7 separate regions of the Homo sapiens genome follow, and regions 1, 2, 3, 4, 6 and 7 are each linked to region 5. The links are contacts of gene promoters, found by promoter capture Hi-C in blood cells and fetal thymus (Javierre and others, 2016). All regions are on one chromosome and are shown on one strand. The core of a region is centred on a gene start or on the middle of the fragment in contact, and the rest is flanking DNA. Distances in the headings are between cores, read along the strand shown.

Evidence for each region. Contacts are between HindIII fragments. The CHiCAGO score rates a contact against its expected background, and 5 or more counts as called.
Region 1: a contact is called between the fragment with the promoter of SETD1A here and the fragment with the promoter of ZNF267 in region 5, in 13 of 17 cell types (non-activated CD4 T cells, naive CD8 T cells, monocytes and 10 more). The highest score is 17.0, in non-activated CD4 T cells.
Region 2: the fragment with the promoter of HSD3B7 here is called in contact with the fragment with the promoter of ZNF267 in region 5 in 15 of 17 cell types (naive CD8 T cells, non-activated CD4 T cells, total CD4 T cells and 12 more); the score reaches 37.7 in naive CD8 T cells.
Region 3: a fragment that was not itself captured here is called in contact with the fragment with the promoter of ZNF267 in region 5 in 1 of 17 cell types (total B cells); the score reaches 5.7 in total B cells.
Region 4: the fragment with the promoter of STX1B here is called in contact with the fragment with the promoter of ZNF267 in region 5 in 17 of 17 cell types (non-activated CD4 T cells, naive CD8 T cells, total CD4 T cells and 14 more); the score reaches 34.2 in non-activated CD4 T cells.
Region 6: the fragment with the promoter of FBXL19-AS1 here is called in contact with the fragment with the promoter of ZNF267 in region 5 in 12 of 17 cell types (naive CD8 T cells, total B cells, activated CD4 T cells and 9 more); the score reaches 15.6 in naive CD8 T cells.
Region 7: the fragment with the promoter of BCL7C here is called in contact with the fragment with the promoter of ZNF267 in region 5 in 11 of 17 cell types (naive CD8 T cells, naive B cells, fetal thymus and 8 more); the score reaches 8.5 in naive CD8 T cells.

What each region holds. Positions count from the first base shown.
Region 1 is chr16:30,956,228-30,960,039 of GRCh38, forward strand. SETD1A (SET domain containing 1A, histone lysine methyltransferase) reads left to right here and starts at 1,527. Exons shown (of 19, transcript NM_014712.3): 1 at 1,527-1,737; 2 at 2,490-2,654; 3 at 2,864-2,959. The coding sequence starts at 2,505. RefSeq lists enhancers at 835-1,598, 1,056-1,185 and silencers at 1,786-2,005, 2,146-2,235. The HindIII fragment of the contact is 14,721 bases long and covers 1-3,812 here.
Region 2 is chr16:30,982,800-30,986,456 of GRCh38, forward strand. It overlaps HSD3B7 (hydroxy-delta-5-steroid dehydrogenase, 3 beta- and steroid delta-isomerase 7), which reads left to right and starts at 2,408. Exons shown (of 7, transcript NM_025193.4): 1 at 2,408-2,498; 2 at 2,854-3,025; 3 at 3,250-3,405; 4 at 3,624-3,657. The coding sequence starts at 2,860. SETD1A (SET domain containing 1A, histone lysine methyltransferase) reads left to right here. Exons shown (of 19, transcript NM_014712.3): 18 at 836-973; 19 at 1,051-1,865. The coding sequence ends at 1,224. RefSeq lists an enhancer at 1,877-2,389. The HindIII fragment of the contact is 29,451 bases long and covers 1-3,657 here.
Region 3 is chr16:30,939,372-30,943,028 of GRCh38, forward strand. FBXL19 (F-box and leucine rich repeat protein 19) reads left to right here. Exons shown (of 11, transcript NM_001382779.1): 8 at 2,745-2,908; 9 at 3,004-3,165. Among named protein-coding and RNA genes, the nearest start is that of ORAI3, 7.9 kb to the right of the region's middle. RefSeq lists a silencer at 2,639-2,768 and an enhancer at 3,193-3,657. The HindIII fragment of the contact is 714 bases long and covers 1,065-1,778 here.
Region 4 is chr16:31,009,075-31,012,716 of GRCh38, forward strand. It overlaps STX1B (syntaxin 1B), which reads right to left and starts at 1,564. Exons shown (of 10, transcript NM_052874.5): 1 at 1,293-1,564. The coding sequence starts at 1,322. RefSeq lists an enhancer at 1,600-2,101. The HindIII fragment of the contact is 27,284 bases long and covers 1-3,642 here.
Region 5 is chr16:31,872,534-31,875,881 of GRCh38, forward strand. ZNF267 (zinc finger protein 267) reads left to right here and starts at 1,274. Exons shown (of 4, transcript NM_003414.6): 1 at 1,274-1,436. The coding sequence starts at 1,434. RefSeq lists an enhancer at 1,095-1,389 and silencers at 1,276-1,325, 1,476-1,555. The HindIII fragment of the contact is 12,710 bases long and covers 1-3,348 here.
Region 6 is chr16:30,921,986-30,925,341 of GRCh38, forward strand. FBXL19-AS1 (FBXL19 antisense RNA 1) reads right to left here and starts at 1,284. Exons shown (of 1, transcript NR_024348.1): 1 at 1-1,284. It overlaps FBXL19 (F-box and leucine rich repeat protein 19), which reads left to right and starts at 1,587. Exons shown (of 11, transcript NM_001382779.1): 1 at 1,587-2,474. RefSeq lists enhancers at 1-625, 366-1,185, 626-1,593, 1,216-1,305, 1,346-1,505. The HindIII fragment of the contact is 5,738 bases long and covers 456-3,356 here.
Region 7 is chr16:30,892,334-30,895,975 of GRCh38, forward strand. It overlaps BCL7C (BAF chromatin remodeling complex subunit BCL7C), which reads right to left and starts at 1,744. Exons shown (of 6, transcript NM_004765.4): 1 at 1,520-1,744; 2 at 879-957; 3 at 507-615; 4 at 253-414. The coding sequence starts at 1,611. MIR762HG (MIR762 host gene) reads left to right here. Exons shown (of 3, transcript NR_110942.1): 3 at 2,215-2,887. MIR762 (microRNA 762) reads left to right here and starts at 1,570; the gene lies at 1,570-1,652. It also overlaps a transcript of CTF1 not described here. RefSeq lists enhancers at 701-1,333, 872-1,201, 2,945-3,450, 3,451-3,642 and a silencer at 1,582-2,061. The HindIII fragment of the contact is 7,734 bases long and covers 1,278-3,642 here.

The DNA.
Region 1 (3,812 bases), core at 277-2,776, 920 kb before region 5:
AAGATCTTGCCCAAAACCACACAGCTAGTCCATGAAACTGAACTTGGACTATCTACCCCTCACACGGGAATCTCTCTTTGATTTGAGAAAAGGAACCAGTGCCTTTCAACTGGAACAGAAAGGAATCTGATCTCAACACCTATGCCTCCACGTAAATTATTTTTTTCAGCCTTATTTCCCTCAAAATTGTAGAGTCCTAATCTTCTTCTATCTTGTGGTGTGAGACCTTGGATAAGTCTCCCTTCCACCTTTTCCTATTACTTAAAATGGTGAATTTGCATAAACCAGGCTCTAAGGGTCTTTTCTGCACTGTTCGGATGTGTACAAATTGACATCCAAGTTTAAAGGAAGACTCTGAAACTTAGGTCAATGACTTGCCCAAGGCCATATAGCGAGGGCCTGATGTACACATATCAGGAGCTTGGGGCATCCTCAGCTCAGGAAAAGGGACCTCCTGGGAGTGCCTGCGCCCACACGGGATCAAAACGGTGCCCAGCCTTCAGAAACCTCAGCCCGAGTTCCAGGGGTAGGCCTGGGCCGCTGCTGCCCTTGTGCGGAGGCATCCCGTGAGCATAGGGCGCCATAGCCAAAGAAGCGGGCAGTGGGACCATGACGCCAGGAGGACACACCAGTCCAGTCCCGTTCCTGTAGGACCTCGTTTATTATTACAAGGCCCATTTAAGGGCACTTAGGCCCCACTAGGCTCATCAGAAAACCTTGAGGCGGTCCCTGGATTTAACCACTAATGGTGGGTTTGAGTACGGCAAAGTAGGGCACCTTCTACAGGCCTCACTCTCCCCATCTGGCAAATGGGCATCCTAAGCAGCCAGACACCCAAGGGCAATAACGGGAAGGAAAGGTACCCTGCATTTATGTGCGAGGCGGGGCAAACCGCCTGAGTCACCGCTCACGGTTGTGTTTTTCCACCTCCCGGCCGTCCCTCCCATCCGGGTGAGTCCTCGTGGGTCCTCCCGGAGGCGCCCCCTAGTCCCAGGCTCTGCACGCCCTGGCCCCGCCCCTTGACTCGGCCCCGCCCACAGCGGAATCCGCAGATTCGCCAGGTCGGATCCTCAGAATTCCTCGGGTCCCTCGATACTCGGCTGAAAATTCTCATCGGACTCTGAGAGGAGCGCTGGGCTGGAGGCATTTTCCCCAGGGACAGAAGCGGGCTATTCTCTCACTTGGGCCAGTAAGAAAAATCCAAAAAAAGTTGTCGACTCTGCCAGCAGGGATTGGCTAACGGGCCGTTATTTTCTTGACTCCACCAAGGCGGATGAAGGGGAGGCTACGGCTGAGGCCGGGAACAGTGGCGAATCTGCAGCCTCTCAGAATTTGGCAGTGCAAGGAAGGGACGGGGAAGAGAAGCAAAGCGGCGCGCATCCTGTCCAGCGATTCGCCCCGCCCGCCCGGTGAATCTGCGTCTGCAGAACGCGCCACTGAAGGTTCCCCAGCGCTGGCTGGCCTCCTCCCCTCCGCCCCGCCCCTTTTCCTCAGGGACTAGTCGCAGCTTTCGTCGCCGCCGATTCGTCAAGGTCCCGGGCCGCAGCATCTAGATCGTCGTGGCGAAGCCGACTCTCCGGGGGATGCGGCCAATCTCCAAGCTCCCTGGGCCGCAACTTCCGAGCCTCCCAGGGCGCCGGCCGAGGCGAAGCCGCTACCCTCGGCCCCGTGGGTCCCCCGGCAGCGCCTGTGGCGAAAGTGCGAATGCAGACCCTGTGCCCGCTGGGCCTCGCGCAGGTGGCAGTGGTGTTTGGTGCGCGCGCCGGGGAGGTGGTGGTGGGGGGGCGCCGCCGCCGCCACCGCTGCGGGGCCGGGTCTCGCGCTGCCGCTGCCGCCGCCTCGCGCCGCTGAGGTGCCGCGCGAGGTGGGGGGAGGGGGAGCCGCTCGCCGGGAGCGGGTGAGTGGGGCCGCGCGGCGCGCGTGCGCGGAGACCTGCTGGGGGGGGTGCAGAACGCGCCGGGGCGGGAGGAGAGGGCAGCGGTGCACGTTCCCCCCACCCCCCCGCCCGGATTCGGGGTCGAAGCCGGGTCTCGGGCTCGGTCTCGCGGTGTTTCCAACGCCCCGAAGAGGTGCCACCTTTCGGCCGGAGGATCGGGGCGCGGGGAGGAGAGCGGGTGTGTGGGAGCCGTGGCCGGGCTCGGCCCGGGCCGCTGGCCGGTGAGGAGGCGGGAGGGGGCGGGGCCTGCAGGGGGCGGGGGAGGGGTCTTGCTCCGAGGCCAAGTGGGGCGCGCGCTAGGGAGAGCGGGAAGGTAAGGGGGCTCGAGACGGGCCTGGGGGCCTGACAGTAGAGTTGGGAGGTGGAAAGAGGCTGGGTTGTTGTGGCGAAACAGAGGGTACTTGGGGGAGAATCCGGGGGAGCCCCGGGTCAGGGTGAGGGTTGGAAACTGGAGTGATGGGAGAACCTGGAATCGGGGCTAGCCAATGAGGAAAGGCAGGGGAGTCAGGCCCCAAGTCCTGATCCTTCTTGCGTGTCCCTCTTCCCCTAACAGTGTAAATGAGCAAAGATGGATCAGGAAGGTGGGGGAGATGGGCAGAAGGCCCCGAGCTTCCAGTGGCGGAACTACAAGCTCATCGTGGATCCTGCCTTGGACCCTGCCCTGCGCAGGCCTTCTCAGAAGGTGTACCGCTATGATGGAGTCCACTTCAGTGTCAACGTGAGTGCCCGGGTCTTTGGTTGCCATCCGGGGAGCTCCAGGCGCCCGTCCTCTGTGATTCTGTTCAGCACCTAGAACGGTAGCCTGCCTTCTTGAAAGTGGGCAGTTGGACCCAGCTCTTCTGCATGTGTGTGTCCAGATGGGCTGCTTGGAGCTCCCTAGCCTGGATTCACCCTGAGCTCTCTTTCTGCTGCTGCTTTCCTTCCTAGGACTCAAAGTATATACCAGTCGAAGACCTCCAAGACCCCCGTTGCCATGTCAGGTCCAAAAACAGAGACTTTTCCCTCCCAGTCCCTAAGTTTAAGGTAAGTGTCTGCTGGGCTCCTGGTGTGGTAGTCCTAAGAGGGTGTGGAGGATGCGTCTTGGCACTATAGCTGAATAAAAGGGTTTCCAATGAAAGGATCTCAGCCAGATCTAGCAACCTCTGAGGCTGTGAGACTCAGTTGTTTTGGATAGGAGGTACACTTAATCTTCCAGAAAGGTGCAGGTCAGGTGTCCTAAGTGTATCCCTGGTGGCTGGGGTGTCGACTTCTTGAAGGGTGAGGTAAAGACTCTTTAGCTGCTATACCTATCACTGTATATTCGTAGACAGTGCATCATAGCACACAAGAGTGGGATCTCCCAGTTCCTTGACAGTCAAGGGGAGTGACAAGGCCACTGCCTACCTGGGTAGCACTATTCCCCGCCTCTCATTTGGCGATGTCATTTCCCTCTTGTTTCCTTCGAGGACTCCTATTCTCCACCCTAGACAAGATATTCTTCAGGCCTTGAACTGGGCCTGGAACACTGGTGGTTCTTCATTTCCTTCTCTGATTCTTTATTCTTCCTTTCTAAATAAATTGTTTGTGGGGTCCCTTCATTCTTCTTCTTCTTTTTTTTTTTTTTACTTTGTACACTTCACTTGGACAATCTCTTTCACACCCACAGCTTCAACTATTACCTAAATGTTGATGACTTCCAAGTATCTGTTTCCAGCCAACATCTCTAGGCTTGTATGCCTGGTAGGGGGACAGTTTCATTTGGAGGCCACACATGTTTCAGATTTAAGGGATTTAAAACAAATTATCTACCTCCTTAACCTACCTTTTTCATTTTCCCTCTACTCATATGTGGCAGTACCATCGACTCAGCTGTACAGCCTGGCAGCCTGTGATTCTC
Region 2 (3,657 bases), core at 1,158-3,657, 890 kb before region 5:
GGGTGCAAGGTGGTTGGCTGGGCTCAGCAGTGAGAGGGTGAGGGGGACGGGAGGCCCTCTCTCGGTGCTGCTCTTAGCTGCTGGGAGTATGATGGGAGGGCCAGTGAGATGGGTGTGAGGAGGAAGAACAAATATATGGTCAAGATGAGCTCCAGTCTGGACATGTGGGGTTGCAATGCCCCAGGGACATCTAGGGGATGACGCCCAGCAGCTCCACTGAGGTGGCTTTTGGCTGGAAATGGAAGTTTGGGAGGAGTCCCCACCACATAGCTGGCGGCTGAGGCTCTGGAAGGGAGTGAGGTCACCCGAGGAGGGCGTGCAGAGGCTCCTCACTGTCTTCTGGGAAGTAAGGGTTGCTCCTCACACGGAGGTGCGGGGCCTGACATGGGCGGCCTGCCATTTGCATTAGCCGGTGGCAGCCAACAGGTGCCTGTTTTGGAGAGAGGTCCAGGGAGGAGAGATGAGCAGGGTGCCGTTGGTGACATGGCCAGTCATTTCAGGAGCTGCCCCAACCCCAGACTTGCCCCAGCAGTCCGGGACCCCACTGTGACCAGGCAGATGCTCGAAGGAGTCAGTGGCTCTCTTACCCAGTGCAGATTTCCCTGGAGTTCCCTGCGGGTGACTTAGAATGGCCACCAGAGGCTTAGGATGCTGCCCCAAAGAGGGAGGGCTCCTGGAAGCAGAGTCGAGAGAGTCAGTGCCGGGTTAGCGGGAGCTGGAGGCAGAGCTGCAGCTCCAGGCCTGGTGGGCGTGGACCTGGGGTGCTGGCTGGCAGGCGTGCTCAGGGGCAGGAAGTGGGGGACTCTTCCCTGACCATCGCATCTCACCCTGGCAGATGGTGGCCGACATGCGGGAGAAGCGCTACGTGCAGGAGGGCATTGGCAGCAGCTACCTGTTCCGGGTGGACCACGACACCATCATCGATGCCACCAAGTGTGGCAACCTGGCCAGATTCATCAACCACTGCTGCACGGTGCGCCAGGGGCCAGCCGGGGCAGGAGTTGGGGGTCGGTGGGGGTGGCCACGGCTCACACGCCCTTCCATCCGCAGCCTAACTGCTACGCCAAGGTCATCACCATCGAGTCCCAGAAGAAGATCGTGATCTACTCCAAGCAGCCCATTGGCGTGGACGAGGAGATCACCTACGACTACAAGTTCCCACTGGAAGACAACAAGATCCCGTGTCTGTGTGGCACAGAGAGCTGCCGGGGCTCCCTAAACTGAGGTGGGGCAGGATGGGTGCCCACACCCCTATTTATTCCCCCTGGTGCCCTGAGCTCCCAGCACCCCCCCAGCCTTAGTGGGCTCAGCAGGGCCCACATGCCCCCATCTCCAAGCGTGGGGTTGGGGGCCCCAAGCCCAGCGAGGGAGCCTCAGTCCCTGGAGGCAGCTTCTGCCTCTCCTGTCACCCCTGCCCACCACCCCCTGATTGTTTTTCTTTGCGGAGAAGAAGCTGTAAATGTTTTGTAGCAGCCAGCAGCTGTTTCCTGTGGAAACCTGGGGTGCCGGCCTGTACAGATTCTGTCCTGGGGGGCTACACAGTCCTCTTGCTTTGTGTTAATGGGGACTTCCCCTTACGCCCTGCGTGTACCCCTCCCCAGTTTAGGGGTCTCTGGGGCAGTGGCCATGTTCTCCCCCTGGGGGGGCTCTGCACCCCCAGTCCTGGGGACTCCGTGCCTGGAACCCTGCCTCATCTGTTCCTGCCAGACCCTGAGGGTCACCCTTCCACCCTGGTGTCACTCCCCGGCTCAGCCAGGCCAGGATGGCGGGGTGGGTCCCTTTTGCTGGGCTGGACTGTACATATGTTAATAGCGCAAACCCGACGCCACATTTTTATAATTGTGATTAAACTTTATTGTACAAAAGTGTTTGGTCGGTGTATTTGGGCAGGAGCGAGGGGTTGGGGGTAGAGGGCACGGAGGGTTGTGCAAGTTGAAGAGAGGGAAAAGTGGGTACCTGAAGTGTGGGGCAGGTAAAGGGGCCTTCAGGCAAGAGCCCAGACCTGCAGAGACAGTCCGAGACTGTCTCGGACCCCCTGACAGGCTGCAGCAGCCGCACCCGCACCAGGAATACCCCACCAGTGCCCGCCAGGGTGGTGCCAAGGTCAGGCCTCCCCTTCCTACAATCACAGCTGCAGCTGGACCTCCGGCCTCCTGGGAAGCCCAGCAGGAGGGAAGGCCTGAGGTCACACTGTGGGATGAGGTCACCGCTGGCTCCACCCACAGCCCCAGACCCCTTCAGCCCACTCTGCAAGTTCGAGCTTCATCCCCACCAAGTTCTCCGCTGGACCCAGATGCCAGTGGAGCACAGAGCGGCCGCCAGGGGGCGCCTTGGGGCAAGAGTGGTGGGGGTTGTGGCTGGGCGGGTCTCTGTTCCTGGAATGGGGCAGGAGGGAGAAGGAGGAGCCAGCGGAAGGACGGTGTGCGGGCCGGCCAGCCCTGGACGAAAGAAGAGGGCCCCTCCAGGCCAGTCTGGGCACCCTGGGATAGCGGCTGCAGGTAGGCAGAGGCGCTGCCAGTGCCCAGGTGGCCTTTCCCTCCATCCGGCCCTTCCCACCTTCCTATAACCTTCCCTCCACCTCCCTCAACTCCTGGCCTCCCCACCCTTTTACTGCCTTCAAATCTCTCTCCCTAAACCCTGACCCCTTCCTGCACCCCAAGCCCGCCCCTCTCTCCGTAACTCAGCCATCAGCAGGGGCAGACGGCAGGTGGCCTGGTTGCTGCAGCTCCCAGGATCAGCTCTGCCCTCCCCGCAAACGCCAGCCTCGTCACCGCTCCAGGGCACCTCCAGCAGTAACAGGTGGTTGCAGCAGGTGGCAGCCAGCCCCTGGATGAGCCAAGGTCTCTTCCCCAGCCAGGCATGGCCGACTCTGCACAGGCCCAGAAGCTGGTGTACCTGGTCACAGGGGGCTGTGGCTTCCTGGGAGAGCACGTGGTGCGAATGCTGCTGCAGCGGGAGCCCCGGCTCGGGGAGCTGCGGGTCTTTGACCAACACCTGGGTCCCTGGCTGGAGGAGCTGAAGACAGGTTCTTGTTGGGGGAGCTTGTGGTGGAGAGGGTGTGGACGCTTCCCCAACCCTTCCCAAGCTGGGATCCCCACCCCTGCAGTGGAACAGATGATGCTGGTTTCTGTCCACATGGATGGGTCGAGTGAGTCACATTGGGAACGTGACTCCAGGGTGGAAGATGAACCCAGCCTCTGGCCTCTGGCCCCAGCTCTGACATGGCCTGTGTCCTCCAACCCCGGCCAGGGCCTGTGAGGGTGACTGCCATCCAGGGGGACGTGACCCAGGCCCATGAGGTGGCAGCAGCTGTGGCCGGAGCCCATGTGGTCATCCACACGGCTGGGCTGGTAGACGTGTTTGGCAGGGCCAGTCCCAAGACCATCCATGAGGTCAACGTGCAGGGTGAGGAGCTCTGGACACTCCTGGCCATCTTGCCTGTTTGTTCCCCACTCTGTCTTTGGCCTTGACCTCCGGTGACTCCCCTGGGACAAGTTGTCCTATTGACAGCCCTGCCCCCGCCTCCCCTGACCTGTCATGGTTTTCCCTGGACCTGGGATGGGGAGGAGGAAGATGCAGAGAGGGAAGAAGCTGCAGCTTGGATACGCCTCCTCCTCTGCCAGGTACCCGGAACGTGATCGAGGCTTGTGTGCAGAC
Region 3 (3,657 bases), core at 172-2,671, 930 kb before region 5:
TTTTAAGATTAACATATTTATGTGAAACAATACTGGGGTTTTTTTTTTTGTTTTTTTTTTGAGACGGAGTCTCGCTCTGTCGCCCAGGCTGGAGTGCAGTGGCACGATCTCGGCTCACTGCAAGCTCCACCTCCCAGATTCACGCCATTCTCCTGCCTCAGCCTCCCGAGTATCTGGGACTACAGGCGCCCTCCACCACGCCCAGCTAATTTTTTGTATTTTTTTTTTAGTAGAGACGGGGTTTCACTGTGTTAGCCTGGATGGTCTTGATCTCCTGACCTAGTGATCCACCCACCTCGGCCTCCCAAAGTGCTGGGATTACACGCATGAGCCACCGCGCCCGGCAACAATACTGGTTTTAAGTGCAAAGAGGAGATGATTCAAAGATAAATCATGTTACGCAGATAAGTGAACAGCAAATACTGGAGCTTGGGAATCACTGCCCCAGCCCAGGGCTTCTACAAGGAAAAGCCTTTCAGAGTCATGAGGGCAGGGAGGGAGGCAAGAGAAAGCTTCCCTTGGGAGGCCAAGGGAAGGATCGCTTGAGCTCAGGAGTTCAAAACCAGCCTGGACAACCTTGTCTCTACTAAAAATAAAAAAATAGGCCAGGCACAGTGGCTCACGCCTGTAATCCCAGCACTATGGGAGGCCAAAGTGGGCAGATCACCTGAGGTCAGGATTTCGAGACCAGCCTGGCCAACATGGAGAAACCCTATCTCTACTAAAAATACAAAAAATTAGCCGGGCGTGGTGGCGCATGCCTGTAATCCCAGCTACTCTGGAGGCTGAGGCGGGAGAATCGCTTGAACTTGGGAGATGGTGGTTTCAGTGAGCCAAGATCACACCATTGCACTCCAGCCTGGGCAACAAGAGCGAAACTCTGTCTCAAAAAAAAAAAAAAAGTCAGGTGTGGTGGCATGTGCCTGTAGTCCCAGCTACTCAGGAGGCTGAGGTAGGAGGATGGCTTGAGCCCAGGAGTTTAAGGTTGCAGTGAGCTGTGATCGCAGTACTGCACCCCAGCCTGGGTGACTAAGCAAGACACTGTCTCAAGAAAAAAAAAAAAAAGCTTCCTGGGCCTGCTGCTTCTGACACAGTCTATTGAGTCTCAGAGGCATTTCTGGACATGCCTTTGAGAACTACTGAACTCAGAGAAGAGAGTTCTCAAACTGAGTCCAAAGGAACTTCAGTGTACTACAAAATGTTACTAGATTACCTTGGGAGAGGTGGGGAAGGATTCCTGGGGAAGTACGTTTGAGAGGCCCTTCTCCAGTTCACTGCATGTTTTTTGTTTGTTTGTTTGTTTGTTTGTTTTTGAGATGGAGTCTCTCACTGTTGCCCCAGCTGGTGTGCAGTGGTGCGATCTCGGCTCGCTGCAATCTCCGCCTCCCGGGTTCAAGTAATTCTCCTGCCTCAGCCTCCCGAGTAGCTAGGATTACAGGCGCCCGCCACCATGCCCAGCTAATTTTTTGTACTTTTAGTAGAGACAGGGTTTCACTAGTAGAACAGCCAGGCTGTTCTCGAATTCCTGACCTCATGATCCACCCACCTCGGCCTCCCAAAGTGCTGGGATTACAGGTGTGAGCCACTGCACCCAGCCCACTGCATGTTAGATAGTCTGTTGAGGCCTGTGGAGTGCTCGGGTTAGGAAACCTGTTTAATGTTGCTTAGGACTCGTTCATCTTTGTAGCTTCAATACTTGGGACCTATAACGCTTTCTATAATCAGAGTGAATAAATGAAATGCTGTAGATGAGGAGGTGGGGGAGAGTGGTCAGTGGAAGCTTTAAGTAGTTACTAGCTTGATTCATTCATTACAAATGGGCAGCTGGGTGCAGTAGCTCATGCCTGTAATCCCAGTGTTTTGGGAGGCCAAGGCAGGAGGATCGCTTGAGGCCAGGAGATCAAGACCAGCCTAGGCAACATAGTGAGACCCTGTCTCTACAAAAAAATTGTTTAAAAATTAGCCAGGCGTGGTGACATGTGCCTGTGGTCCCAGCTACTCAGGAGGCTGAGGTGGGAGGATTGCTTGAGCCCAGTAGGTTGAGGCTGCGGTGAGCCTGAGTCCAGCCTGGGTTACAGAGTGAGACCCTGTCTCAAAAAAAATTTTTTTTCAAAAAGTGGAAAACGCAAATCTGCCCTTGTGGAATTTACATTGTAGTTGGAGGAACACAGTAATGTAATAGGGAAGATATTAGGGCTGTAAGTCCAGCTGCGGGCAGCTGGCTGTCAAGATGGGACAGGTGTGGATCAGAAGCAGAGATGAGTAAAGGAGGCAAGGACCCATGAGCACCAGAACTCAGTCAGGAATCAAGAAGCCCAAGGGTGGCTGGAGACGACTGGATAACACCAGTCCCCTTGGCATGACATCAGGCAGCATGCGTGGCATTTGTGTATGTGTTGGGCAGCACACTTTCTATGCTGGGAGGCCCACAGCTGGGATGAGCCCATGTGACCTGACAGCTGCCCTGTGGGCAGGCAGAGTGGGGGGGCTATTGCCTTCAATCATAAACGAGGCTTCTGAGGCTCAGGGAGAGGAACAGACTTGCCCAGGGTCTCATTTCCAGTTAGTGATGGAGTTGGGTTCCAATCCCAGTGCTCTTGGCTGAGGTCAGGTGCTTCTTGCTACCCTGTTGTCTGTGTGGCCAGAAGAGAGCTGGGGTGCACCCTTGGAGCTGGGGAGCCTGGGAACTGTGGGCTGCTGAGAGCTGAGGGCTGAGGTCTCTGTCTCCCCCCTATGGCCGCCAGGTGCTATGACAAGCGTCTGTGGCCTCGAATGGACCTGAGCCGGCGGAAGTCACTGACCCCGCCCATGCTCAGTGGTGTGGTTCGCCGCCAGCCCCGTGCCCTGGACCTCAGCTGGACAGGTGTCTCCAAGAAGCAGCTCATGTGGCTTCTGAACCGACTACAAGGTAGGGTGTGTGGTACGGAGGACAGGGTGGGGACAGGGACAGGCCTGGGATGGAGTCCTCACAGCACCTGCTTCCTGACTGCCCCCTCTCCGCAGGCCTGCAGGAGCTGGTGCTCTCTGGCTGCTCCTGGCTCTCTGTCTCTGCCCTGGGCTCAGCCCCACTGCCAGCCCTGCGGCTCCTGGACCTCCGCTGGATCGAGGATGTTAAAGACTCCCAGCTCCGGGAGTTGCTGCTGCCTCCACCAGACACCAAACCAGGTGCAACCTCTGTTTGCTTTTCTGGAGAATGGGCTGGGCAAGGGTAGGGTAGGAGGCCTCTCAGGTCTCTTCTGACTCATGCTGGATGGTAAAGTATTTGAAGAAAGGAAAGAATACATGAGTTTGAATAGGAAGGCCCTGGTTGGGCATTATTCATTCATTCACCCACCTGCTGTGTACTTTGAACTGAGTCTTGAAAGGAACAGGGTTTTCCCAGGGAGTGTGAGACTCAGCAGTTTGGTGGGGCAGGAGGCCCATATTGGCAGAGGGGGATGCTGGGAGCAGAGGCCATCTCTCTTCATCTACTTAAATCTCATCATCCTTTAGGCCTGGGTATAAATGCCACTTCCTCCAAGAAGCTCTCCCTGATCCCACCCCACATTGAGCTCAGAGTCCCTCTCAGCTTTGAGAGCAGCCCGCCAGCATAATACTGGGCAATTGTGGAGTGCCTTGATGCACATCTGTGCCCTCCTGCCAGGGTCTCCAGCTCCC
Region 4 (3,642 bases), core at 314-2,813, 860 kb before region 5:
GGCAACCTGTCTGTCCCCAGAGACAGCGGTCACTTGCCTCCAAACACCTTCTTCTCGTCTGTCTGTAACCTGGGTCCCCACCCCCAAATCCAGGGGACAGCTCTTCACCCCCAGTGCTGAAACTTCTGTTTCAAAGGCCAGAAAAGCAGAGACCTGTGTCAACCTAGCAGACAGGAAACCCAGATTGCAGTCTGCCCCCCACCCACTTGCTTGGTGACCTTGGACAAGTCCCTTCCCACGCCTGAATCTCAGTTTCCTCATCTGTCAAGTGGGGTAATAACCCCTGGGGTAACAACCCACCAGTTCCCTGTAAAGGCTCAGTGCATTGGGCAGCTCAGCCGGGGCCGGTACCCTTATTAACATAACACCACCAGCCCAGCACAGTGCGGACTGTCAGTGCTGCCTCCTCGGGCCCCAGGTCATTTCTCCAAATACCCCAGCGTCCTCCCTGCCCCTGAAACCATTCTCATCGAACCCCACTCCCCAGTTCCTCCAGGTAGCAGCCTCCACTGCAGTCCTTCCCCTGTCCCCCCAAAACCAGGGACTGCCTGGCCAGACTCTTGGAGCCGGGCCTCTTCAGGCCTGCAGACCTGGGGCCTGCATCAGCCCTTGACTGCCCGGGGTGCCCCAGTTCCCCCAAGCAGAGCACGGCCCGTGTTCCATGGCCCTCTCCTCTGCATCCCCATCTCCCACCTCTGGGTCACCCTGTCTCAGGCCCTGGCCCTCTGGCTCTCTCCGGAGGCCACCTCTTCCCTCCCTGTCTCGGAGAGATGCCCCCTCCCTATAGGGAGTGACACACGCGTGTGCACACACACACACACTTCATTCACTGCCAGGTGCTGGCATCTCAGTCCCAACCTGTGTCCTTCCCCGTAGCATCCCCTGAATCTGGGTCCTGCTAGACTCTCAGCCTGGCCCAGTCACCGCCCCCATGCTTCTCTTTGGCAAACCTGCCCAGGGGATGACAGTCTCCTCCGGTTTCTCCTGATATCCACTCTCTCCCATCCCCAGACCAGACCCCGGGGCCCTCCTGGGAATGCGGGGTGTTCGAGGCCCCTGAGACCTCTCCTGCCCCCTTGTGTCTTCATGGCCTCCAACCCCTTCCAGGCACTGTCCCCAAAATGCAGGTTCACTGGAGAGACATCAGGCGCCTGAAGATACTGGGGTGCTCCGGCTACCAACCTCCGATCTCATCCTTCGCCCCCACGTCCCAGCACCTCCCCCACTCCATCCCCACGCGCTCCCCCAATATTGGGGTCCCGCCCCCCCATTCTCCCCACCCCCAAGCTCACACTCCGCAGCTCTTGAGTCCGATCCTTCATCCTGCGACGGCTCCTCCTCCTCCTCCTAGTCCTCCTGCCTCTGCTGCTGCTCCGGGTCTCCCGCCTCTGTGCCGGAGGCCGGGGTCTGGGGGCGCCGGGGGGCGCCGCGGCCGCTGCGGGGGGCCTGCGGGCGGGGGCGGGGCCGGGGGCGACTGGCCGAGGGCCGGGCAGGGGCAGGGGCCTGGGCCGGGCTCGGCTCTGCCGGGCTGCGGTGGCGATGCGGCTGCGGCACAGGGTAGGATGGAGGGATGCGGGAGCCGAGCGCGGGGGAGGGGGGCGGAGGGAGGTGAGGAGGAAGCGAGGGCGGGGGGAGCGGGAGCGCGCAAGGAGCAGGGGGCATGCGCAGCACCCGGGCCGGGGGCGCCTGGGGGTTGTAGTCACGGGCTTGGGGGACACCCGAGGAGGGGGCGGGAGAGGCCTGGAGGCGGGTGGGGGTGGGCAGAGCCCGAGGAGCAGGGAGAGATGCGGAGAGCCAAGCGGAGATGCTAGGGTGGCCCGGGGGGTGGGGTGGCCCGGCGGAAAGAGGGGGTGACGGAATGAATTCAGGGAATAACCTGGGAGCCAGGATGTGGATCCCTTTCCAGGAGACACAGATCGCGGCTGTGTTTTGTGTCTGGTGTCTGCGTGAGGCTGCGCGCCGACCACCTCTGGGTGCGAGCCCATGTGTGTTCTTGCAGGAGGCTCTTTGGACACTATAAATAGAAAGACCGACCCTCTGTGTGGTTTTTACGATGCAGGGAACCAGCCAGGTGCTTGCTGAGAAGGACACGGGGCTTGTGTTGCACAGCCTGGGCCTCTCCCGCCGCGGTGGGTCTCGGAGCTCTGCTTGTCTGCCTCCAGGGACAGGGTGCTCACTACCTCCCAGGACCTCTTGGCCCATCTGCAGATGGCTCTGACTGTTGAACATGAAATTTGTCCTTAGTGGGAGGGGAAATCAGGTGCCCCTGAGGGTCTGAGTGACCTCCTGTTCTGATGCCCACCTCTCCTCTCCCCATCCTTACACCACACCAGCTCCTCCCACCCCCTGCAATGGGGCGCCGGTCCCCAATGGGACAGGTCTTGACTCTCAATCGATCCTCCTGCCTCAGCCTCCCAAAGTGCTGGGATTCCATGCCTGGGCCACCGCACCCGGCATTCTCTTGCCAGGTACCCAGTGACCTCCTTGGTGCCAAATCTGTGTCTGATAAACCCTCATCCCACACCGCCAGTCGGGCCTTACCATCCCTGACCTCTCAGCAGCATGTGACCCTGATGAGCCCCTCTTCCTGAAACCCTCCTGTCTGTGGTGCTCCGCCCACCTACCCCCCAACCTGATCTGTGAGTGTTGTCTCCCAGCCTCTTTCCAGGTCCTTACCTTTTTTCCCACAGCCCTTCAACCTCAGGGTTCCCTGGGCTCCGTCCATTCTCTCTTTTTTTTTTTTTTTGAGTTAGGGTCTCATTCTGTTGCCCAGGCTAGAGTACAGTGGTGCAATCTCGGCTCACTGCAGCCTCAACGTCCCAGGCTCAAGTGATCCTCCCACCTCAGCCTCCTGAGTAGCTGGGACTACAGGCACGCGCCACCACACCTGGCTAATTTTATTTTTTGTAGAGACAGGGTCTCACTATGTTGTCCAGGCTGGTTTTGAACTCCTAGGGTCAAGCGATCCTCCTGCCTCAGCCTCCCAAAGTGCTGAGATTACAGGCCTGGGCCACCATGCCTGGCATTCTCTTCCTTCTTTACCTGCATCTTTCTGCACCTCCGTGTCTGCAGTGCCCACATCTGTACCTGCGAGCCAGATCCTCCCCCTGTAAGACAGCCCCTACTATATGCCTAAGCTCTGAGCTGGGCACCAAGAAGACAGAGATTGAAGATGCCACCAGAGCCATGAGTAGATCCATGACTACAGTGGGCATGGCTAGCGCTGACGTGGGGACCTCAAGGAGGTGGCTGTCCCCAAAGTGTTCCTTCCTGTGTTCTCCCTCAGAGATGGCGTCATCTCCATCCACCCAGCCACTCAAAGCACAGAAAGCTGTCCTTGCCTCCCCGCCATTATAATGCCAGCACGTTCTGGGCATCCAACGTGTTGCATTCACTATGCTGGTAGCTCCCAGAAACCTCCCAACCTCACAGTAGCCACTGCTAAGATCCCAAGTGTATAGACAAGGACACTGAGGCTTTGCATGGTCACATAACATATCCAAGTTCACAAGGTTAATAAAGGGCAGGGCTGGGGTCTTGTTTGCTTTTTTTTTTTTTTTTCCAGAGACAGGGTCTCACTCTGTTCCCCAGGCTGGAGTGCAGTGGTGCAATCACACCTCACAGCAGCCTTGACCTCCTGGG
Region 5 (3,348 bases), core at 24-2,523:
GTTTAACCAAGCTAGATGGCGGCCGAGGGCCCTGGCCCAGTTTGACACCCACCTCCTCTCCCACCTTCTACTCAGCCAGAAGACTAGGAGAATCTACTCAGCCGGAAGACTACGAGGTGCTGCAGCGCCACTAGCTCCAAGACTCCAGAAAAACAGGAATAGGGCATTCTGGCAGGTCAAAGCAGACAGAATACTTGAGCTCAGGAGTTGGCGAACTGACTATTAACCTGTAGCCCCAGTTACTTGGGAGGCTAAGGTGGGAGGATCGCTTGAGCTCAGGAGATGGAGACCAGCCTGGGCAACATGGTGAAACCTCATCTCTACAAAAAATACAAAAATCAGCCGGGCATGGTGGCATGTGCCTGTAGTCCCAGCTACTCAGGAGGCTGAGGTGGGAAGATTGCTTGAGCCCCGGAGGCTGCAGTGAGCCATGACTGCACCACTGCACCAGCCTGGGCAATAGAGTGAGACCCTGTCTCAAAACAAAAGCAAAAACCAGAGGTAGGGCTGAGGAGTCCGTGGCCACAGAGCCTGAGCCAGCACGGCCCAGAGGAACTGAGCTCCCAGCCCTGTCGCTGCCAAGGACCCTTCTTCCCTGAGCTTGAAGGGATTGAGAAGGAGAGACAGACGGACAGTCAGCGGCCCCGTTACCAGTGATGCAGACTCCAGGAGATGCGGGCAGAGTTGTAGATTAGAAGAATAGGCCAGCCCCTCTTCCACGTTCCACCACGGCCCGCAACATCCTCCTGGGACCCCAGCCTGCATGCCCCTATAAGATGCTTTTGCACTGGTTCAGTCTATGTATCATGCGAGGGCCTAATTGAAAACACGTGAATGAAGTGTACGGCCTTCTGTTCCCAGCTGAGGGGCCCCCTCCCACGGTGGCGTTAGCAGTGGGGTACAGTGCGGTAAGAGAGGTGCTAAGGGACGGGATGAGGGTCTTTCTTGCTTTAAAGGTGTCTAAATATACTTCTTCTTAAACTTAATTAGCTAATAAGATGTCTTATACAAGCAGAACCAGGTAAGGGAAAGAGCAAGTGTATTTCAAGTCGCAGCTCACCCCTTAATTAGCTGTAATACCCGCAGCAGGCGGCCCCACCTCAATGAGCCAGTCTCCCTTTCAAAAAAAAAAAAAAAAAAGGCACTAATAATGAGGGGGCGGGGCATGGAGCTTTATCCAATCAGGGGCGCTGGAGTGGAAACCGTCCAATCAGGAGTGAAGCCGGAGAGCAGGGGCGGCTTCCGGGATTTGGCGGGGGCCTTCGTCGGCTCCAGTTAGAGCTCGGGTCTCCTCGCCACAGCTCCGAGTCTTTCGTTCTGGGAGGCCCAGGCGGCTTCGCGTTCTGAGAATAAACAGAACCTCTGTTGCTCTGCGACTTGCAGGCACTGGGAGATTCGTAGCTAAGACGCCAGGGCATCCCGGAAGCTGGGAAATGGTGAGTGTGCGGGGTCGGGGGTCCCCAGAGGGAGGGAGGGCGGTGGTCGGAAGCGGCGGGAACCCGCTGTAGGGGCACCCGGGCCTCCCCGCAGTCAGCCTCGGGGTCTGGGCCCCGAGTCCCAACTGGTGCAGCTCGGCCCTCGGTCCCCTCCGCTGCAAGATGGCGGCCAGGCCGGCAGCCGGGACCCCGCGTGTCCTGTCCCATCCCGACCCCGCAGAGCGACCTCGTCCCTGGCCGGAGCCCTCTCTGGGCAGCTCCGCGTCGCAGCCCCGCGTCTCCCCCAGATTGTGCGGTGAGGACGGGAGCGTCTCAGGGGAGACCCAGGTTCGGTGTGTGGGAAGAAACCGTGCCCTGTGGGGTCCTCAGTCACTACTCCTCTTAAGAATTAAAGGGAGTCACTGTTAAAACGTTGAAGAATTTGAGCAAATAGCGATTTGTGACATGGGAAGCCTGCAGTCCTGGTTTGTGGTTCGGAGATCCCCAGAGGGGCTTGAAGGAAAGGTTTTTATAAGGTGCATGAGGAAGCAGACCAAATTAACCGATGGGTTACAGTTTGTAGTTGCCTTATTTAGACTATGCAGGTGGAGGTGAATTGGAGCTTTGTGGTTCGTTAAGTCTGAATTTTGTTTTCCCCTAAAGTTGTAATTTACAAGAAAAGCATTTGAGTTTGGTTTTGGTTTTTCTCCCTAGAAACCTGGGGCACTATAACCACTTCCGTATAATCGCCTGCTCATTAATCATCTTAACACTGCCCAGGGGAACTGGTTTTCCCCCTGCGCTTTCCTAACGTGTAGCACGCAGAGTCTCAAGTCCACCACTGTGTTCCCCCAGTCTAACTGGGCTTGCAATAAAATATTAAATTTCCAGTTCCTTCCCGACATTTCCAAAGGCCAACTTCCCCTCTCCAGTTCACATTCTTAACTATTGGTCATTTATTGTACATTTCAGACAGTATTTTACTCATTAATCATGATTTCACAGAGCAGTGGATGACACTTTTTTAAAGATTTGTGTTTTTTTGGCATACATTTCACGTGAGAGGAAAGCAGAGAATAAAAAATCCCTGACACTCCACTGCAAAAAAAACTGTGCCTCTTTTTCATTCATCTTCCCCAGGCACAGACACGTTATCGGAAAGAATGTCTTTTGACTTGAGGTTTTGCTTTGGAAACTTTACAGGGCCCTGTATAGCCACCCTCTATCCAGTCTTTTCCTGTTCCTGAATTTCAGAACTGTCTGGGATGACTCAAGATGCCCACAGTGGCCATGTCTCCTGGAGTGTTTAGTGACTGTCAGCCCCAGGTCACCTCCTGTTAGAGGACCGCCCAAGGTATGGAAATGTAGTCCCTCAGGGGAGCAGCTGGATGCCCTGGGGCTGAGAGAAATCTCCTGGGACACCCTTAACCTAAAAAGATAACCCCTTGGGACATAAGGATTTTATTTCTTCAAAGCTAGTTTTCATCCCTTGGAGACACATTGCTGGTCAGCCAATCGTTTGCTGGTATTGAGGGGAAACAGTCACAAATGATTCCTGCCCCCTAGATTCATTCAGATTTGTGAAGGGAGAAAAACTCCCAAAGGACCAAAAAACAAAAACCCCACCCCAGTGAGGTGGTGCAAACTCGGCTGCGGTGTCCATGGGGCACAGTGCAGGATCTGGGAGGATGGTCCCTGAGCATTTTAATGAGCAGTATTGGGGTAGGAGAATGTCTCAAATGATACCGTGACCTGACTTGACACTTGAGCCAGATATGTCTGTATTCCAACAGCATTACCACTCCCTGAGTTTGCTGCCTTAGATTGTTCATTTATTTCTACTTCAGTTTTTCAGTTAGTGTAAATTTCATCAGTAGAGCTTGAAAGATAAAAAACATTTCCAAGGCCATGAAAGGTGGATTTCAGAAAATTA
Region 6 (3,356 bases), core at 34-2,533, 950 kb before region 5:
TGACAAGAACATTGGCTTGTTTAACACTCACAACTGTGCTTCGAGGTGGGGATCATTATCCCCATTGTCCCCATTTTGCAGATGAGAAAAAGCAAGGTTTGGTGGCTTCCCGGGGCGGGGCGGGGATTCGCTGTGACTCCAGGTCCTTTTCCCCGGAGCCCGCACGTCTTGTAAGACACTGATTCCCGGAGGTCTGAGGAGCAGGAATCGAGTGGGAGGTGCCCAGGCTTTCTAGGGAACAAGAGTGTGAATGCACTCTCGACGAGAACCACGCCCCCCTGTTCGACAAGACTGATTCCTGCTGCCTTCCTTTAAGGGCCCTCCCCTGAAACGCGAAGTCCTCGCCCCATGGAGAGGCGGACATTCTTTATTCCCGGATCGCCCGACGTTTTTCTCCCCCACCCGCACTGATCCCCACTGGTGACATAAATCCTTCCCCTCCACTCGCGAGTGAAAGCTTGGGACTACATTTCCCGCCAGGCTGTTCAGAAGCCGGTGGCGGAGAGAGGAGAAAAGAGTCTTTCCGTTTCCGTCGCCTCGCAATTTGGCGTGTCCGCCGGGATTCACATTTCAACAGCGACGTCCTTTCTCTGTTGGACTCGGCAAGGAACTACATTTCCCAGCAGGCACCGGCGCAGAGGTCGAGGGGCGAGGTCGCCATCTTTTTCGTAGTCCTCTCCCTCATTTCCGCAGGGAAGAGGCCAGACGCCTGGACTACACATCCCATGTCGCAGTCGCCCCGGCCCTGCAGCCGCCATCTTTGCCGGTGGCCCCGCCCCATCCCCTTCCATTGTCTCGACTTGAGATGATAGACGGGAGCCGGGAGACTGCAACTCCCGTCAGGCCGTGCGCCACTGGTGGGGGGGATTTCGAGACCACAGGCGGGCGAGGTGCCCAAGGTGGTGGAAAGCGGAGACCGGGAGAGGCTAGGTAGCCTGCCATCTTTACGGTAGTCTCCTCGTCCTCCTGGTTCCGCCATTCTTAAGGAACACTGGAAGGCTATAAAACTACTAATCCCATCGCACCTCGTAAGATCGACTACTAGTCAGGTGTATGTCCCTCTTCCGCCATCTTGCTTGTAGTCCTCTTTCCTTTTCACCTTTCCATTGTTCCTGACGAGTAGAAATGGCAGCGGGAAGGCAGCAGATGGACTGCGACTCCCGTCAGGTACCACACACGCGGAGGGTTGTGGACAGGAGGGCGTGTGAGTGCCTGGGAAGGAGGTCGGGTCGGGGGAGAAGGCCATCTTGTTTGTAGTCATCGTTCCCTCTCCTTCTCGATGTTCTGCAACTGGGAGCCTCGGGGCAACGGGACTCTAACTCCCGGCATCCTCGGCTCCCGGCTGGGCACGCCCTCCGCCGTCCTGTTTGTAGTTCCCGCTGTCCCCAGCGTCCTATTGTTCCCCCGTAGCATCAGTGGCCGCAGGACTACAACTCCCGTCGAGCCCTGCGTGCGTTCGTCCTGGAAAGTGGAGGTGGTGGAGGAAGGAGGGGGAAGGGGGCGGGGTTCCTCTGGGAGAAGGAGGGAGTAAAGAGGGGGAGGAGGAGGAGGAGGAGGGAAGGAGGAGGGAGGGGAGGGGAGGGGGGAAGAGAGGAGGAAGGAGGAAGGAGCTGAGGAGGGATGAGAGAGGCGGCCAGGGCCCCGGGCCGTAGCAGCGCGGGGCTGGGGGACCAGGGGGGCTGAGACACCCCAACTGCCCCCTTCCCCTTTCCCTCTCCCCCTCTATCCTTTCCTTCCACCCTCCCGCTTGAGGAGGGGGATTTATTCAAATTTTATTTAAATCCCTATCTCCCGAGGGTCGCGCGCTTGGGGGAGGGGGAGAGGTCGGGGGTGCGCGCGGGCTGGGGGGGGCGGGGCCGGAGCAGCTTCCTTCACCTCCCCCTCCGCTCGCCTCGCAGCCGTAGGGCAGGGGGTCGCAGTCCAGGGGCGGGCCCAGGGGAGGGGGGCAGGTTACAGCGACCCCCCCCTCCCCGGGAACCGGCGGTGGGCGGGCTTGAACCCCGGAAACGGTGGGGGGGGCCCAGGCCTGGCACTGGACCCCTGGGCAGTGGGGTCCGGGAAGGGGCCAGTTAAAGGGCCAGGGGCGCTGGGGAGAGGCGGGGCGGGGTGGGGGGAGGGGAGCTGGGACTCGGACCCGGGACTGAGTGGGCCCCGGGCAGAAGCTGAGCACCCTGCGCCCAAGGAGCCCCCGTTGGCCTGGGGGGGCTGAGGGACTGAGCCTCCCAGAGCAGGACCTCCCCCTGGAAGGGCCGCGCCGCAGCCCGTGGGAGGGCCTCGCCCCCGGCGCCCCCCATCTCCACTCGCCGCCGTCCCGGCCTCCGCCGGAGGGAGGGGCCGAGCGCCCTCGGGGGGCCGTGGACCCCGGCGTTCTGAGCGTTCCGCGCCCCGCGCCGCCCGGCCCCCCCGCCGCCGATGGCCGCCGACCCGCCGGGAGCTGCCGAGAAGGGAGAGATGGCTCCCGGGACACGTGTGAGGTGGGTTCATGCGGCTCCTCCTCACCCCCAGACCTGGGCAGCGCCCACTCCCATTCATCCTCAGCCCGGCCTCTCTCTACCTTCCCCGCCCCCAGCCTCACCCTCTCTCTACTCCAAACTCATCTCCAGCCCTCCTTCCTATGACCTCTCCACCCTGGGGAACTGGCCCTCCTTCCTAGACCCTGCTTCCCCTTGAAAGCCCCCACCCCCGCCTGCAGTCGCCGCCCTCCAGGCCCCTCCCCTGGAGCGCTGGAGGGCCCCTTAGCCCCATGGATGGGTATGAAAGTCCCCGGAAAGGGGGAATCTGGGGTAAGACTGACTGGGAAGAGACCCTCCAGGCTTCTAATTCCACATGGGATCTTGGAGGATCTGGTTTCCATGGGAGGGGGAGCCCAAGGGATTCTAGATGATTAGGGATGAAAGCAGCCCGGGAAGCTGGGGGTCCTAGGACTGAGCCCATCCTCAGTTCTGGGAAGATGTCAGGCTGGATTCTAGAATCCCAAGGAATTTGGGAGATTGCCCAGGTGGACCTGAGGGATCCAAGAGGAGGGTGTCCTGGAGGAGGGAACCCTGTGGGGAACAAGAGGGGCTGAGATCTTGGGCTGAGAAGGGTCTCTGAAGAAGCATCTCCAGGGCTGTCAGAGCTCTGGGGAGTTAGTGGGCAGAGGAGATCGTTAGGGACTTGGGGGCAAGGATCTCGCTGGATCTGGTGAGGATAACTGGGTTGAGGGGAAGAGAGATTGGATGGCTGCTGTGGATGAAAAGGTTGGTGGGGCGGGGGGGAGGAAAAGTCCGGAGCTTCCGTCTAGGAATCTCTGGGTATCTGGGAGGTGAATCTGGGCAGTTTACCCCAGATTGAGGTTGGGGAGAGCCTGGGATATT
Region 7 (3,642 bases), core at 494-2,993, 980 kb before region 5:
CATGAGAGTGAGGAGAAAGATAAACTAGTAAAAAATTAATTTACATGAAAATCTCAGACAGTGATATGTCTGTATAGATTCTAAGAGACCAGAGGAATGAGACTGTAGCTACAGGGAGATTCTGCAGGAGTCGGAAGGCGCCTTGAGGAGGGTGCACAAGACGGGGAGCAGGTATAGGGATGAGCTGGTAGGTTAGACTCTGGAGAAGACAGGACTTAGAGGAGAGAGCTCCTGGGAGGTACCTGGTCCTACCTCTCTCTTGGCCCAGCCGTGGGGGCTGAGCCTCCTCAGGGACCCCTTCTGGGGGTCCGGCAGGTGACACAGGGCGGCTGGGCTGGGGGGTGCCCCCAGGACTGGGCTCTGTGCCCTTTTGCAGGGAACCTTCCGAATGGAAACTCTGGTTGCTGTTCTCATCTGCGGGAGCAAGAGCCGAGATGGTTGGCCTGAGATCCCTAGTACACTCCTTCAGTCCCCACAGCCCCCCGCGTTTCAGGATCCCTACCTACCATTAAGATCCAGCAGGATGAGAGGGCCACCCCCTCGGGGACTGGCGCCCCTGCCCCGACGTTCCCGGCCACGGGATCTCTCTGCCCCGCCACCTGCCCGCCTTCGCTCCTGGGGGTTAGAGGATTAGGGTCAGAGCTCTTGGAAAGCCCCACCATACACCTAAGGAAACTGAGGCACTGAGAAGCAAAAGGGCTCAAACTCAGGGGGTGTGGAGCAGAAAAGAGGGCAAAAGGGGAGGAGCTGCTAATGATGGTTCCCGTCTGTCCTGCTGCATCTGAGGTCTCGGGGAGCTGGAGGTAGAGGTCAGCGTGGGGAGGAACTTGCCTGAGGTTGCACAGATGCAGGGCCTTGTGGGAATGGGGGTTGCTCACCTCCTCCTGGGGATCCACCACTGGCACCCACTTGAAGATACGAAGGGAAGTGTCGCCCACAGTCACCCATCGCTTCTCCCTGTGGGAGGGTGGGGGGCTGGGTCAGAGAGGCCTGAGGGGAGACCCACCCCCCTAGGAGCTGGACACATCTGGGGGTACCTGCAGAGGTTGAGGAGGCACAGGAGGATAGCAACAGTTTTGCTAATGGGGCATAGTTACATGGAGGAAGAGAGTCCTGCAAACCCCAGGGCATAGGCGGTGGGTGCCTCTAGAGAGAGGATATGATTTGGGGCCCTGGCTCTGCGGACCCCTGGGGCACACATGGGGGGCGTGGCTATGGGCCTGGCCCGGGATCAGAGCCCTGCAGATCCTGGGGCGCACCTGCAGGAGGGGTGTCAAAGCTTTAGGGGGCGGGGCACAAGAGGGGGCTCCCGCTCTGGGAGGACACGGCTGGGGATCACGCTTTGTAGACCCCCAGGAGTAGCCAGGCGAACGGGGACAGAGCCCTGTGGATCCAGGGCAAAGCTAGTGGGTGGAGATACACCGAACACCCGGGGCCCAGAGCTGGCGAGGGCAGCGTAGACGCCTTTGGTGCTGGTGGTCCCGCTGTGTCCCGTCCCTGGCCCCCGAGCAGCGCTCACCATCTCCGGACCTTCTCGATGGTCGCCATCACCTTCTTGATGTCATCCTTGGCCCGGCTCCGGGTCTCGGCCCGTACAGTCCGGCCGGCCATGCTGGCGGGGCTGGGGCCGGGGCCGAGCCCGCGGCGGGGCCGCCTCCCGTCCGGCGGGCTCAGGCTCCGCGCCAGGCCCGGGCGCCGCGCTCTCGGCCTGCCGTCCCCCCTGGAGTTGGCCGCGCCCTCTCTCGTCCCCAACGCCTCCGCAAGTCCCCGCCCCGTTTCCTGCCGCCGCGCCCCGCCCCGGCCTGTCCCCGGAGCGGCCCGGTGGCGCGGGCGGCCAGAGCCCAGGCCTGGAAGCCCGGCCGGCCCCGCCCCGACCCGGGCCCGCCCCCTTGGAGCGCCTGGACGCTCAGCGCCCCCTGCCCGCCGCCGAGAGCGGGAGTTGGGGACGGACGCGCGAGTTGGGGACGGAGAGCGGGAGTTGCGACCGGACGCGCGAGGCAGGGCCGAGGCCGTGTGTTCAGACCACGTGGGCGCGGGGTGCGCGACAGGGTCTGTGTCCTGCGCTGCGTGAGCCGCGGTGGGTGTCCGCGAAACGCTGTGTGTGGAGTGCGTGCGTGTGTCCGCCCTCGCCAGGCTGTTGGTCTACACCGCCCAACTTACTCAGTCATCCATTCATTCAACAGTCTTGTTAACTGAGTGCCAATTACGCTCCAGGCGCTGCGAATACGAGTGGGTCTCCACCACCAGAATGGCTAAAGTGAAAAAGACCGCACCGTGTGGAGGCGAGAAAGTAGAGCGACTGGACCTCTCTTGTATTTCTGGGGGAGTGTAAATTGGTAGAGACATTTTGGAAAACTGGCAGTTTTCTAATGAAGCCGAACATATGCCACCTCTGTGATCCAGCAGTTCCACTCCTAGGCTGTCAACACCCAGCAGAAATGTGTAGGTGTGAGCATCAAGAGGGTGCATGGGAATGTTCAGAGCCCTTTCATAACAGCCCCAAACTGGAAATAACCCATCAACAGAATGGAAAATGAATGATGCCCTACTCACTACCATGCACATAGACACAGCAACGGGATTGACATGCCCGGCTACACACAGCAACATAGACAAGTCGCATGATGAAATCTTGAGTGACAGAAGCCAAATGCAACAGTACATACTAGATGGTTCCAGGTGTATTACGTTCAGAACCAGACAAAACTAATTTATAGTGCACCAAAGTCAAGATAGTGATCGCCCTTAGGGTTGGGAGGGGACGAGGGGAGAGCTTCTGGGAGCTGATCCAGTTCTGTTGTGTAATCTGGTGCTGGTTCCCTGGGCATATGTATTCTGTGAAAATCCATCACATGACTTAAATAAAATGTACATTACTTAAATAAAATGAGTGTGTCTTTGTTGACTTTATTTGAGGCTGGCTTGTCAGCAGATAAGACCATGTCAAAATTTGTGCTGCTGTTGTGTGTGTGTGTGTGTTTCAAGGTGTGGCTGTTGTGTCTGTGAATTTGGGCGTGACCATGTCCAGAGGTTAAGGGTATAAGGGGTTAGGAGCATGGTTAAGACAGCATTTTTTTGAGCCAAGCTGCTTAGGTAAAATCCCAGTTGTGCCACACCTAACTGTGTTACCCTGGACAAGTCACTTCTCTCTATTCCGCATCTATAACACAGGAGTTAGTTAATGTGCATATGGCTCTTAGAACAGTGCCCAGCACATGGTAAATGCCCAATAAATATTTACAGTTAATACACATGTGATTGTGGGCCCTACCAATTGTCTGGCTCAATTCTATCTGCTGTGCCCTCTCCAGTTAAACTCTTTCTTCTTTTATTCCAGCAATTGCTCACGGCAATACACACACCCACTCACACGAACACACGCACACACATGCACGCGCACATGCACACACGCGCACACCTGCACACTCACACGCACACAAATCCACTCGCACACACGCATGCTCACACGCACACACGTCCGCATGCACGCACACACGCAGACACACGCAAGCGCACACACACACGGGCCTCCTCGTCTTCATTCACAAACCCCATTAGCTTCTGTTGTCTATGGGCTTCCTCGACAGACCGCGAGCCCCTCGCGGGGGCCAGAAACCAAGTATGGATCATCCCTATGTGCCT